Regions from separate parts of the Homo sapiens genome. Here region 2 is linked to region 1. Evidence: promoter capture Hi-C in 16 types of primary human blood cells and fetal thymus (Javierre and others, 2016). All regions are on one chromosome and are shown on one strand. The core of a region is centred on a gene start or on the middle of the fragment in contact, and the rest is flanking DNA. Distances in the headings are between cores, read along the strand shown.

Evidence for each region. Contacts are between HindIII fragments. The CHiCAGO score rates a contact against its expected background, and 5 or more counts as called.
Region 2: a fragment that was not itself captured here is called in contact with the fragment with the promoter of C1orf53 in region 1 in 1 of 17 cell types (total B cells); the score reaches 12.9 in total B cells.

What each region holds. Positions count from the first base shown.
Region 1 is chr1:197,901,253-197,904,154 of GRCh38, forward strand. C1orf53 (chromosome 1 open reading frame 53) reads left to right here and starts at 1,378. Exons shown (of 3, transcript NM_001024594.3): 1 at 1,378-1,661. The coding sequence starts at 1,398. RefSeq lists silencers at 1,263-1,412, 1,583-1,832. The HindIII fragment of the contact is 7,446 bases long and covers 1-2,902 here.
Region 2 is chr1:200,034,087-200,037,325 of GRCh38, forward strand. All of the region lies in intron 1 of NR5A2 (nuclear receptor subfamily 5 group A member 2), which reads left to right. Among named protein-coding and RNA genes, the nearest start is that of NR5A2, 8.0 kb to the left of the region's middle. RefSeq lists an enhancer at 1,839-2,739. The HindIII fragment of the contact is 2,325 bases long and covers 772-3,096 here.

The sequences.
Region 1 (2,902 bases), core at 128-2,627:
AGATAGTTCCATTTATTTTCTATTTAAATCTGGTCTAGTCTATTTCATTCCTGTAAAATGCTGTCTCTACCCTTTGAATCGATGTCATGGCCTATTAGTGGATCCTGATCCTTAATTTTAAAGACAATGCAGTAAATCAATCTCAGGTTTTTGTTGGTGCGGGGACCTGACTTATGGTGAATGTGAATAACATCACAGTTGTTCATTTTTGGTGATCTCATGTTTGGTCCCACTCTTCCACAGCTTTCTCTAGGGTCCCTCCTTCGCTTTCCAGATTTTAAACTCTCCTCAGATTACTTAACAGTCTCCAGATCCTAATTTTTTATTCCAACAAAAAGAAAATCAATTTGCAAAATATAATACCAATTTATTAATTCACTGAGATTTTTAATGAACCAATAGGGTTGTTTCAATCACCTCCTACTAAGATTTAAGAAAATGAAAATATGACTACAGGGTTGCATGGTAAACACAGAAACCAAAAAACACGTAGTGATGGTCTATAGTGGCTTAGTCGCCTTTCTCCTGTACAACTGAATAATCTACTTTTGTCCTCAAAGATCAATTCCTGCCCTCCCAGTATTGAAGAGCACTAACAAAATTGGTACTCTTCAGCCCTCCTTTTCTTGAAACCCAGACGGGGGGTAGGAAGATGGGGTGGTGTTAATTTAATCCTAACACCTGAAATTACTTCCCGGGCTTGCCGTAATTTTCTCAAATACAATTATGTGACGGTATCAAGATCACTTTCATCCATCAGAAAGGAGATAATAGTTTTAGGTTGGATTTTGTAAATATTCAGCAACATGAACACAACACCTTTTCTTATTCAGTGTGCGATTTTACTTTTGGCCCTTATTCTAGGGTGGGCCAAAGAACCAAGCAAAGAAGGCTCCGCTTCCACCTTTATTCCTATCACATACTACCTGGAAACACTCAGCCTTTTCTGGATAGGCCCAAGGTGGTTATTCACAAACCTCGGGTCTTTTGATCACTTTCTGGGATCTTAACAGTTGTGGAGATTATACTGAATGATCCCAAGTCCAGTCTGACATAACAAAAAATGTCCACCTTTCAGCTGGGTGGGCGCGGGGGAAGAAGGAAGAGCTTAGAATTTAAGTCCAAAGATGTGGAAACACCAGGCTCTTCCCCGTCCAGGCAGCTCATCAGAGCCTCGTTAGCTGCCTTAAAAGCCCATTTTATTTCCGCAGCGGGCCCGCTGGTGAAGGCAGAAGGCTCAGTCCGTCCGCCTCCACCTGCTGCCACGGCAGCGCGAACCGACCCCACGCAGCGATGGCCACGAGCTGCCCAAGACCGGCTCGCCGCGCCCAGGCCCGCGTTGGTCGCCCCTCCGGGCCCCAGCGCCGGGTGCTCCGCCTCCCAAGGCCGGCGGCGGCATGGCGGCCAGGCAGATCTGGGCACGGACGGGTGCCGCGCTCTGCAGGCAACCTTCCGCCGCCCCGCCGCCAGCACCTCTCTGGGTAAGAGCTGGGTTCCGACAGCAGCTCAGCTTAACCCTCTGCCCTGCTAACGAGGGAAACTGCGGCGGCTCCGCGCCCAGCACGCCCGGTAGGCCGGAGAGAGCGGCGAGGCCTTCGGTGAGCGAAGAGTTAACCGCGGCGGAGCGACAGATCGCGGAGCTGCACGCTGCCGCCTGCGCGGTGAGACTCCCTCCTGCCCGCCCCGCCCCGCCGCGGCCGCCCCGGGCTCGGCGCGCCTGCGCATCCCGGGCCTCTCCGGACCCGGAGGCCGCCCGGCAGAGGCAAAGGTTGCTGGATACCGGTGCGGTCCTGCCTCGGGCGACATTCGCGCACGCACACGAACTTCCAGCCCCGACATTTTCGCGGGAAACCTGTGTCTGTCTTGAGTATGAGTGTGATTTGTTTTCCGATCAGCGTCCGAGCTAAACTCCGGTCGCAGTGTGGGACCCACTACCACTCTTTTGTGGTGTATGTGTGTGTGTGTTGCGGAAGGGGGTGTTAAGGAATTGATGGAGAAGGTGGAGGGACTGAGAAGTCACAACAAAAATGTGTTGTGTGTTTTTCTGCATTGTCAGTTGAACACTTAGCAATCCAGTGATTCTTAGAGTGAGAAAAAAAGACATTGACACATTTATTTTAATTTTTCCATTGCCTTCTTGTCCTTTCTCTTAACTCTTAACGGAGCAGAGGGAACTACAATCTGGCATTTGTAGACACTCAGCTGTTTTCTCCTGTTTTGCGGATTTGACAATTGTCTGTTAGTACCAGTATCTAAACTTCTCTCCCTTTACGCCTTCTAACACAGTCTGCGTGAGTTTAAAGGCAGCATGGTTACCTTTACAAAAGAAACAGTGAGAAAAAAAGAGAAACTGACTATAATAAAGATAGAAAAGCAGTATGAAATGAACCCATTTAATAAGCTATGTGTGTGTGCCTCCAGTACTTGATGGGACTAATATTATATGGTATGACTTGAGCCAAAGGGGTAGAGAAGAAAATCCCGGAGGTTGCCTAAAATTGACTTATTTAAATAATGACAGTTAGTAGGCCCTGAGAATCCACTGTCGGTCTGACCCATTCAAGTGCTGAAACTGAATAAAGACTCATTAGGAAGTGACTGGCAGCTTTTGATTGTTCTTGTTTATGCTCTCCTTTTAAAAATAATGTATATAATTTGTTCTCATACTTCGCAATATAGATATGGTGGATATTAAAGAAAAGTGTCATTCTCCTTAGAGCAAACACCAGTATCATGTGAAGAAATTTTCAATCAGTCTAGGGAAGGAAAGGAACTTTTTCTCACTCGGGAAATTCACATTTGTTTCATCAGTGTCAGTATCACAGGTTAAATGACTATCCAGGTGACCATAAGTAAGCCCAGTAAATAACAAGCTGCTTGTTTTTCTTTTTCGACAAATCTG
Region 2 (3,239 bases), core at 684-3,183, 2.1 Mb after region 1:
GCAGCCTAGAATAATCTCGTGCTAAGGATTTTGTTCCTGACCCAGGTTGAAGCGGAGGAGAGGGTGTAAAGGATGCAACTGCAAGTGTTCAGCTAGTTTCACAAGGTGCTTTGTGGCCTACTAGCGCCGGGATCGTCGTTCTGTTGGCCCCGAGGCTGGACAGAATTGATTCCAATGGATGGAGTCCCAATAGTTTTGAACTGGAACTGGCTCAAATTTCCATTTCAATTACAGAGAGGAAGAGATAGATTAGACCACCTACCCGAGATTATTTCCCCTGCCCCACTCCTTTCTTAAGACCGGATCTCCCTGTTACATTCTTCTAAGGGCACCGACTATACCCTGGCGGGGCACTCCAGGACCCCTGGGTTGGGACAACGTGCTGTAAAGAAAATAAGTGAAAAGGTTCTTCAGTGAACTCTTTTTATACAAAGAGCCGTAGATTCCGATATCCAGGCCAAACTCTCCAAAAAGCCCTCCTTTCCTCTGGGGCAAGGGTGGGAGGTTGCCCGGGGGGGTGGGTGGGGGGTAGGTTGGATTACCCAGATAATTGCTTCGGCTTTCGTTTTCCTCCGCGATAAAAACCGCGCCACGCCAGATCGAGATACTCTCATAGTGATTGTGAATCAATCGCCATCCTGCTCTAGGGGCTGATGTTGATGTCTTAAGTAGTTATTCACACGTGCAGCAGAAAGGCTTTTTTTTTTTTTTTTTTTTTTTTTTTTTTTAAACAAGGCACGACTGCTCACCTATTCAGGTTTGCTTTTTTAAAGCTTCGATCAACACGACGCTCCCTGGTAATTCCTATGGCTGTACTGAAATTTAACCCGTCTGTTTCTAATACAAAGCGCTCGGGATGAGGGCGGGTGGAGCCTACGGGCGTGGGCGGGTAGCCCAGCCCTCTGAGCCAGGGAATGAAACTGGAGTTCTGGCTAAACTTTTCAGAGAAAGGCAAAAGCAGCTTCTGATGGGTTTTTCGGCTGGGAGGGGCGGAAAAATTAGGCAGACCCGGAGCTCCCGTAGGCTGAAAAACTTGCTCCTCTTCCCCCTCGGGCTATCCTGGCCTAGTAATGGAGATCTGAAAAAAATCTAGACTTCTTTCGGGGTCTAAAAGGTAGATATGTGGGACGAAAAAAGTAATTGTCCTGGTTTCTTAAAAAGCACCAAAAAGTGGGAATGGAAGAGAAGACGGGAGAAATTGTTTCGAAGGAGGAAGGTATTGCAAGTTTTGTGCAAGTTTGGGTGGGTCATCTACCCAGGCGCGCGGGGAAAGATGTGTCTGCCACACCTTTTGCGAGCCCAGGAAACTTGAACCGCTCCTGAAAATCCTGATATTTTTTCCCGCTGCAGCCCGCACGGGTCAAGCGCGCGGGGGCTGACCAACACTTTCCAGGTCAGGTCGAGTTGATTGCTCCCAGCTCACGCTCCGAAATGCGGTGCTGAACCACGGGAAGGAGGGGGTGGGGAGGAAGGCAGGCAGTTGCATCCTCGCGAGTGGGGAGTGCGAGGCCTCCTCAGCTCCAGCCAGCTGGGTGAATGGGGCGCGCACGGCCCCGTAACGCCGAGCGTGGATAAAATATGCTAGGACTGCGCTTCTCCGGCTCATCAAGGCTGCGGGAGCCTCCCCGAGCCATCATCCTTCGTAATTGCAACCGTCAATCAACACTTTAAGACAAAGTCAGAACCGGGAAGGGCGAGCCCTGGAGACCTGTCTCGTCGGAAAGAAGGAGGTGGAGGGGAGGTGGGGGAAAAGGAGAGAAGTTTGCCAGAAGTTGGCAGAGGGAGTGCAAAGAAATTGAGAACGCGCAAGGTAGTTGAGCAGAGCTGTCCCCCGGTCTCACCACAGACTCCCAGGCCTCCCGGGTTCTAGTCTCTGGTCTCCGCCACCAGTTACAATTCCCGCAGCGGTAAGTACGGGGTGGGTTCCTAAGTGTGCTTACACTAAGAGGTACAGTGGCAGTTGCTAAGATGTCCCCGGCGGAGGATGAGATGCGTCTGTCCACCCGCGGTAGGTGTATTTATGGGTCAGTGCAGACCACCGCTGGCGCCGGCGTTTAGACCACACAGACCCGGTTCCACCTACTTACATCTCAACTGCTTTCCCTTCCCGCAGCCACTTGGCTGTCTTCATATTGTGGCCTCGGGAACCCAGAACCATTCTCAAATAACCCATCTTAGACACCGCAAACTCGGGTTCCTCCTCCCACAGCTTCCTTTCGGAGAGGGCTTTCTGGGGGACGCCCAGACCCGTCCAAGGTCACTGAGCTAGCGGGTCCCCGGCTTCAACAGGGGTCCCTTGCCCAGCAGAATTGAAGGGTCAAAGGACCAGAGTGAGTGCTCAGAGGGAGGAGGGAGTTCTGAGGGAGAAGAAAGGGTGCACTTGGAGGGCAGTAATGAGCTTGACGCTGGAAGCCTGGTGCCGCCGCCCCTGCCTCTGCCTCTTGGATGGAGACCCAGCTGCTTCCTTAAATCCCTTGCAGAGCTACCTGAGGAAGGTTTGTGTGCCCTCGGGTCTCTGGCAAGAATCAATTCCAGTGGAAGATTCCTTGCCTTGTCCACTGCTGGCGGGGATCTTGACATCCTTCCAGGGGATCTGAAATAGGGCTGCCCCCAGGGAGCGTTTCCCATCGTCGAGTTAAAGGCCTGGAGCGCCGAGGGCTTAGGCTTCTGAGCTAGGAGTTCCCTTGGTTCTTAGGAAAGGTCGTTTTCTCTCGCTCGAGACTTTCTGCTCTTTCAGTCCCCCTCCATTTCGCTGCTACGCTTAGGTTTTGGCCTGGACTAGACTTTCAAAGCAAAGGAAAGGGCTTCCCTCCGTGATACAAGCTCCTGCGTTAATTTTTTAAAGCATGGATTTTTAAAACCCAGTCCCCAGCCACCGTTCCCTCCCGCACCCCTCCCATTTTGTGAGGATTTTTCTTTCCTGGAAAGTCCACCTGTGGAGAGATAAATGAGTGCCAGCTGGCCTTTTGCCACCACCACTCTCCATCTTTCGGGGATGTGGTGGGAGGGTAGACTGGCATGGACCAAGAAGTCGCTAGTGTGGCCTAAGCAAGTCCCTTCTGGCCCTGGCAGCTGGCGTTATGAGCATGGTCACAAAGCTTGTCTCACTAGGTCAGCCTCAGCCTCAGGTTCAGCCTCAAGCCAAGGCAGGGTTTCTTGATACACTACAATTTCAAGGTCCTGTCAGACCCTCTTTCAACTTCTTTCAACTCTCCTAACTTCCCCCGGCTTCACCAAGC